Regions from separate parts of the Homo sapiens genome. Here region 2 is linked to region 1. Evidence: promoter capture Hi-C in human tissues and cell types (Jung and others, 2019). All regions are on one chromosome and are shown on one strand. Each heading gives the region's core, a stretch centred on a gene start or on the middle of the fragment in contact. The rest is flanking DNA. Distances are from core to core; before and after follow the strand shown. Region 1 holds the start of CLU (clusterin). Region 2 has its middle 23 kb from the start of PBK.

Region 1 (3,741 bases), core at 801-3,300:
TGCAGGTGATATGGATGCTGCTGATCCAAGGAATGTTCTAGAACCGTGACTGCACAGCCGACCTCCTTTCCTTTGCTCGGACTCACCTCCCCCCTCATCTCCTCTGCCTCCTGGGAGCCTGGCTGCCAGCTGCCCTGGGTGGAAGAGCCATGCCAAGGCCAAGGCCCTCGAGTCCCCAGCACTACCACACAGCCTCATTCTCCCTAAGAAGGCTTAAACCACTTGGCCTTGCTCCTTCTACCAGAAAAGGCCGGTTCTGTGGACAAAGGGGCTGCTCAGGGGAAGAGGAGGAGGAGAAGATGGCGGGGGGTGGGGGGCAGGGGGGGCGGGGGGAGCAGGCAGACTTTGGGAGCAACTCCCCTCCAGGCACACCCTCCTGGGAACTTTGAACTGAGCAGCTTCCCAAAACGTTTCCAAGCAGGGCAGGGCTGGAGGCTTAAGAAAATCAATGACCTGGCAGGGCGCATTGATTCACACCTGTCACCCCAGCACTTTGGGAGGCCAAGACAGGCGGATTACTTGAGATCAGGAGTTCGAGACCAGCCTGGCCAAGGTGGTGAAACCATGTCTCTACTAAAAATACAAAAATTAGCCGGATGTAGCAGCATGCGCCTGTAGTCCCAGCTACTCAGAGGCTGAGGCATGAGAACTGCTTGAACCCGGATGGCGGAGGTTGCAGTGAGCCGAGATGGCGCTACTCTACTCCAGCCTGGGCAACAGAGTGAGACTTGGTCTCAGGAAAAAAAAAAAAAAAGAGAGAAAAGAAAGAAAGAAAATCAATGACTGTGAACAGGGAGCCGTGGGGAGGATGGGAAGACAGTGAAGAGGGCACACAGATGGTGAGGGTTTCAATCCCAAAGCCCCGGCTCCTATCTGCTTCTTCAAATGGAGAAAACTAAACCAAAAGGAAAATAAGAAAAATAATCACCGGTAATTCATATCACCCAGAGGCAAAGGTTAGCACTGTGGTATATTTCCTTCTGTCTTCCATGCAGTTTATACAAGATTCTTCACATTCACCATCTTCAAATATTCTTTAAGGGCATACTTTTATGGCTATGTAATACTCCACTTACTCACGGACCTAAGTTTATTTTACCATTCTCACAAGATTGGCCATTTCAGTTGTGCCCAATGCTCCACTATTATTATAACTTAACATTTTCATGGGCATCTTTTTTTATATAGTATCTGTACTTTCCTTTAAATTCCTAACCTCTCCGTTTAAAAAATAATAATAAAAATCATATTTTTTTTAACTAGGTCCAGAAATTCTGGAAGGTCAAGAGGCTTTGGCTCGAATCCCAATTCTGATACTTATTTGCTGTTTAGTGTTGGCACCAGTCCTAAACCTCTCCAGGCCTCAGATTATCATCTGTAAAATGAGACTGTGGAATCAGAGGTCTGAGGCCTGGTGGATCTTGTGTGACTTTTCTCTGATGCACCTCAGATGCATTAGGAGGCAGAAAAAGTCGGATTTCGGTGGTTGCAGCATATACTGAAATCCGCAGCCTCATACTTACAGGCAACAGTGTCCAGAGAGCTAGAGAATTTAGAAGAAAACTAGATGACTCATGCATGCAAGCCGAAAGCCACAACTGAGAGATCCGCATCTTCGCAGAGGATATGCTGCAGGAAGGAGCTCGGTGCAGGCCAGCTCTGTCACCTGCTAGCCTGGGTCTCCCGCAACGCGGCAGGTCTCCAGGTCTCAGTTTCCCCATCTTTGCGAAAGGATGATCATTATATCTGTTCTATTTACCCCCCCACCACAGAATTGTGGTTGGAGCTCGTGCTCTCAGGCGGCGGTTGCGCCGGGGCCCCTGGCTCAGCTGCCTGGTGATGGGGCTCCGGCCACCTCCCCTCCCTGGCTTCCTGGGCTCCGTCGAAAGCGCAGGGGTTGTGACTGCGAGCTGTGTCATCCCTCTCTGCCTGGCTGCCATCCCCTGCCCGCCCATCCGTCCTGGTGTGGCTCTGCTCAAGGGTAGGGAAGACGGGGACATCTCACCGGTCAGCGGCACCCTGTGCCCGCGCGCTCCTCCTGGCGACGCCGCGTTGTGGGCACTGGGAGGCGCCGTATTTATAGCGCTCTGCTCGCGCACACACCCCCTTTGGGGCTGGCTGCAAACCTGCATGACTCACGCCCAAAGAATGCCGCGGAAAGCAAGGGGAGCTTTCTGGAAGCCGGGAGGTGGGGGCCGGTGCAGCACCGGGCTGGGGGCGCCGGGGGGCGCATCATCACCACGAATAGCTGTGCTGGCTCCAGGAGAGACCCTGAGGTGCGGCCGCTCGGCGCTTCCAGTAGGGAAGAGCCTGAACTCGCGTGCCCATCTGGGAGCCCCTCTCACGCGGTTAGCCCGGCTGTCTGTCCCAGTCCAAGACACAATCTCACAGTTCCCTGGCCCTACTGACCTTAACCTTCACATTACACAAGCGCCACTTCTCTTGACCCATTTAAATAGTAAAGAGTCAGACATAATGAGGGTGGGATGGAGAGGGGCCTTGTGCTGGAGAAGAGAGCACAGGAAGTATTGAAACGCCTACTCCTGGAAACATCACACTGATGGGGGTCCCTGGACTGACCCGCCAGGCCTGGAGGAAACAGAATTGTGTTTAGGAGTGATCAGAGCAGATATGTGGAGAGCCAGAAGGCCTCTCCGGGGTCCTTGATCCACAGAGCTTAAGCAATCACTGTCCCCATCTTTTTGGAACCCAACCAAGCAGGGTGGGCTTCATGGCTGTGGGACCCTTGCAGATCCACGTTTGGTTTAATGGGCTACTGTGACGGTCTTGAAATTCTTCATAGTTTTTGAACCAGTGGACCTGAATTTTTATTTTGCCCTGAGCCTTCCCAGTTAGGAAATCAGATCTGTGTCCAGAGGGGTTTGCTGGTCTCCAACTGCTGGAGTTCCTTCTGCTGAGAGCAGGGAGAATCTCCTGTCGCAGCCACCCCTCCCCCTGGCAAGGAGGGGCAAATCTAGGAACCCTGGAGGTGCAGCTACTTCTTGGGGAAGAAAGTGAGCTGCCCATTTTGGAGCCAGGGATGTTTAAGCCCCAGGAGAGAAGTCAAGGGGCTGACAGCTGGGGCAATGGGTGGACAGGGCGGGTACAGGCAGCCCCACTGTGGGTGGCAGACTTTGAAAACCATGTGAAACAAAGGGGCTTAAAGGAGAGCTGCGTGGTCAGGGGCTGAGTTTTCCAGTTCAGGATCAGGACTATGGAGGCACAACATGGAGGCCCAGTCCCTTGCTTGCCCAACGTCCAGGGGCCACTAGGACCCCAGTCCTTTTCAGGAGGCAGCCTCGGGGAATCTTCAAGGCCCATGACTAAGTGGGAGAACCCAGACCAGGTCCATGAAAGTCTGATTACAGTCCTAGGTGTGCCCCTAGACACTGGGTGACCTCGGACTAATCACTTTGCCCTTGGGCCTCAGTTTCTTCCATCTGGACGATGAGGAATCGGGAATGGATCATCTCCACGGCTCCCTGCAACCTAACCTAGAGCCAAGCCAAGTATTAGAAGGCCATTAACCCAGAAGAAGAAAAAAATGTCCCAGAAGAGGCTACACTTTATTTTTCTTAAAAAAAAAATGTCTAATTATCAGTAACAGCTACATTTTCTGTGGACAGTGCCTGCTCCTTATCAGTGCCTGCTCCTTATCAATACCTGAGGTTAGAAGAATTGTTTTTGAGCTCGCTCCTTGTAACTTTTCTGTTCTGTAGCTCCCTCAGCATCCGGAACAGA
Region 2 (3,741 bases), core at 323-2,822, 250 kb after region 1:
TTCATCTGTGCTCTTGCATGTGTCAATAGTTCATTTCTTTTCATTCCTAAGCAGTAGTGTGTCATTTGGGTGTACCCCTTTGTTTTGGCATTTATGAATAACACTGCTATAAAGTTTCATGGACAGGCTTTCATGTGAACAGAGATTTTCATTCCTCTAGGGTAAATGCCTAGAGTTGGGGTGCTGGCTCATATAAGCTTATGTTTAACTATATTTCATATTTTATCTTATTTATTATTTATTTACTTTATATATTTTTTAATCTTTTAATTTTTTTTTGAGACAGAGTCTCACTCTGTCACCCAGGCTGGAGTATAGTGGCTCGATCTCAGTTCACTGCAACCTCTGCCTCCTGGGTTAAAGCAATTCTCATGTCTCAGCCTCCTGAGTAGCTGGGAATACAGGCGCACGTCACCACGCTTGGCTAATTTTGGTATTTTCAGTAGATATGGGCTTTGCCATGTTGATCAGGCTGGTCTCGAACTCCCGGCCTCAAGTAATTCACCTGCCTCGGCCTCCCAAAGTGCTGGAATTACAGGTGTGAGCTACCACGCCAGGACTATCTTGTTTTTTTTAGAGACAGGGTCTCAGTCATCTCACCCAGGTTAGAGTGCGGTGGTGTAGTCATAGCTCACTGCAGCCTTGAACTCCTAGGCTCAAAGGATCCACCCAACTGAGCCTCCCAAGTAGCTGGAGTCCTGGGCGCATGCCACCATGCATGGCTAATTTTTATTCTTATTTTTTTGTAGAGGTAGGGTTTCACTCTGTTGCCCAGGCTGGTCTCAAACTCCTGGCTTCAAGTGATCCTTCTGCCTTGGCCTCCCAAAGTGCTGGGATTGCAGGTGTGAGCCACCTCACCTGGCCTTTTTATAAAAAACAGCTCAACTATTTTCCAAAATGGCTAAGCCATTTCACATTCCCCCCAGCAGAGTATGAGAGTTCCAGTTGCTGTGTACCTGCATCATAATTGGTATTGCCAGGTTTGGGTTTTGTGTGTGTGTGTGGAAATTTTGACCCTCCTCATGGGTGTGTAGTGGTGTGGTTTGACAGTGTGGAGTATCTTTTCATGCACTTATTTGATATACGTGTATCTTCTTTGCTGAACTGTCTTCTCAAATGTTTTGCCTAGTTTTTCACTGGGTTATTTCCTTATGAGTGAGCTGGCCAGATTGCATTTGAGAGGCCTTTGTGATATCTGGGTGATAATGGAGGCCCTTGGAGACACATGCTTGGATGTTCAGAGATGTCTCATCTGGAGATGCTCACTTGCAAGTCAGTGGCACATAGAGATGCATGAAATAGTCCAAGGACTGCTTGTAGAACAGAGCTTTGAGGCATTCCAGCACTCAGTGGCCAGAGAGGAAGGTGAGCCTGCGAAGGATGCTGAGGACGGGCAGCAACAGAGGTCAGAGGGAAACCTTAAACATGTGGTTTCAGCAAAGCCACAGATGAGGCTTTGCTTCTTTTTTTGTTGTTGTTGTTTTTTGAGGTAGAGTTTTGCTGTTGTCTCCCAGGCTGGAGTGCAATGGTGTGATCCCTGCTCACTGCAACCTCTGCCTCCCGGGTTCAAGTGATCCTTCTGCCTCAGCCTCCTGAGTAGCTGGGATTAGAGGCACCCACCACCATGCCTGGCTATTTTTTTTTATTTTTAGTAGAGATGTGGTTTCACCATGTTGGCCAGGCTGGTCTTGAACTCCTGACCTCAGGTGATCCACCCGCCTCAGCCTCCCAAAGTGCTGGGATTACAGGCGTGAGCTGCTGCACTCAGCCGAGGCTTTGCTTCATTCTACAAACAGAAGAAGGCAGACAACAGAGTTGAATGCTGATCAGATATGATAAAGGCTGCAAAAGATGTGTTTGGTGTACCAAGGAAGATGCCATTGGTAAGCCTAGGAAAGTTTCAGTGGCCCTAAATGGGGGGATGGATTGGACCATGCTGAGGAGGGAGTGGGAGTGAGGAAATGGAGTCAGCAGGTCAACTCTTTTTATTTTCTAATTTTAAAAATTAGTTTATTTTTTAGAGACAGGGTATTGCTCTATGGCCCATGCTGGAGGGCAGTGGTGTGATCATAGTTCACTGCAGCCTCAAACTCCTGGGCTCAAGTGATCCTCCCATCTCAGCCTCCTGAGTAGCTGAGACTGCAGGTGCGCTCCACCATGCCCAGCTAATTTTAAAAATATTTTTCGTAGAGACGAAAAATATTCGTCGCTGTGTTGCCCAGGCTCAAGTGATGCTCCTGTCTCAGCCTCCCAAAGTGCTGGGATTACAGGCCTGAGCCACAGTGCCCGATCCAGCTAATCTCTTTTGAGATGTGGCTTTAAAGAGGAGATAGATAGATTAGTAAATGGAAGAGTAGGATCAAGGGAATCGCATTCTTAGGCTTTGCTGAAATTTGAGAATTTCTACATTAAGACATGACTCTTCATTTACTCATGAACTCAACATTTGAGGTCCTGCTATGTGCCAAGTACTACGCTCCTTGCTGAGGAAAGAAAGCTGAATACAATGGAGGCCCCAGATGACAGGCCACTAACTATGTAGATGGCAGCCCCGTCTATCAACTCGAGCAGAACAGACAGTTCTGTTTATGGCATTAAGATACAAGAGTGTTCTTACTGGTAACATCTTTCCGTAGAAATTGTGAATTTTGTCTTAGGCTACATAGGTTTCAAGGTTATAAAATACCAGATCTGGGAGGGAACTGAGAGATCATCTCATTCAAAGGTAGGAATTTGAGTCCCAGAGAGGCTTAGCAGCTTGCCCAAGGACGCACATCTCCTAAGTGGCAGATTCAGGGACAGAGCCCTTATCTTCTGCTTCCCAGTTCAGGGAATTTTCCACTACTCCATGCCAGATGATACACGTAAGTGTCACTTTCTGCATTTCTAAATTCATATAGCTTAACCATTCCTTTAAGTGGTAATGTTAATGAATTCCATGAGTTAGTGCTTATTTTCCACATTCTGCCAATTAGTTGTGGGTTGGGGGTGATCCATTCCAAGGCCCTGGATTATTAAGTGCAGTGTCAGCTGTTTTTTGAAGGTAATTCATTCCAAAGCTTGGACCAATTACACCTAGCAGAATTGAGAGTAGGTTGAATTTGCCTCTAAATGTCTTTGAATTGAAAATCAATAGTCCTGTCTGCTCCCCCCATAGCATGGCTACAGGGAGCAACTGGGGCATGCGGGAGGTGGTGTCTCCACACACTGGGGAGGTGGGTATCCTGAGGGGGTGCAGGGGTCAGGCTCAAAGCAGTCCCCCTCTTACCTGGTGGATAACAGGCTGGAGCAGTCTATTTTGGGAGTTGGCCTTTTTCTGCTATTCCATCTAGAAACAATAGTAAGAAGAATTTATGATTATTTCTAACCTTCCCTCCCTCCATCATTCTCCCAGCCCTGAGCAATCTGGATTGGACTCCTACCATCTGGGAAATACCAATTTCACTTGGAAACCAGGAGCATCTCCTACCTCATCTAGAACTAGTTACCTCCCCAGCCAGCAGCATGTCAAGGAGAAACAGAAAAAGTATAGATTATCTATCGTGCAAAACAGCCGTTTTCATGCCCACGGCTTCTGGTGATCAGATTAATCTTTGGTGGCCTCTGCCATCCAACCTAATCATTTGAGGAGGCAAAGGCTTGTCCTGCACCGATCTGTCTAGCAGTGTGGCTCTGGGCAAGTGATGGCATCATTAAATATTACAGCTGGAAACTGTAGGGGAGGAAAAAATAATTTCCCCT

Evidence for each region. Contacts are between HindIII fragments. The study calls those that stand out against the background at their distance.
Region 2: a contact is called between a fragment that was not itself captured here and the fragment with the promoter of CLU in region 1, in 1 of the 25 tissues and cell types used here (H1 embryonic stem cells).

The regions. Positions count from the first base shown.
Region 1 is chr8:27,612,650-27,616,390 of GRCh38, forward strand. CLU (clusterin) reads right to left here and starts at 2,051. Exons shown (of 9, transcript NM_001831.4): 1 at 2,006-2,051. RefSeq lists silencers at 464-649, 2,205-2,294 and enhancers at 1,683-2,182, 3,139-3,639. The HindIII fragment of the contact is 13,101 bases long and covers 1-3,741 here.
Region 2 is chr8:27,858,953-27,862,693 of GRCh38, forward strand. No RefSeq gene overlaps it. Among named protein-coding and RNA genes, the nearest start is that of PBK, 23 kb to the left of the region's middle. The HindIII fragment of the contact is 4,925 bases long and covers 1-3,741 here.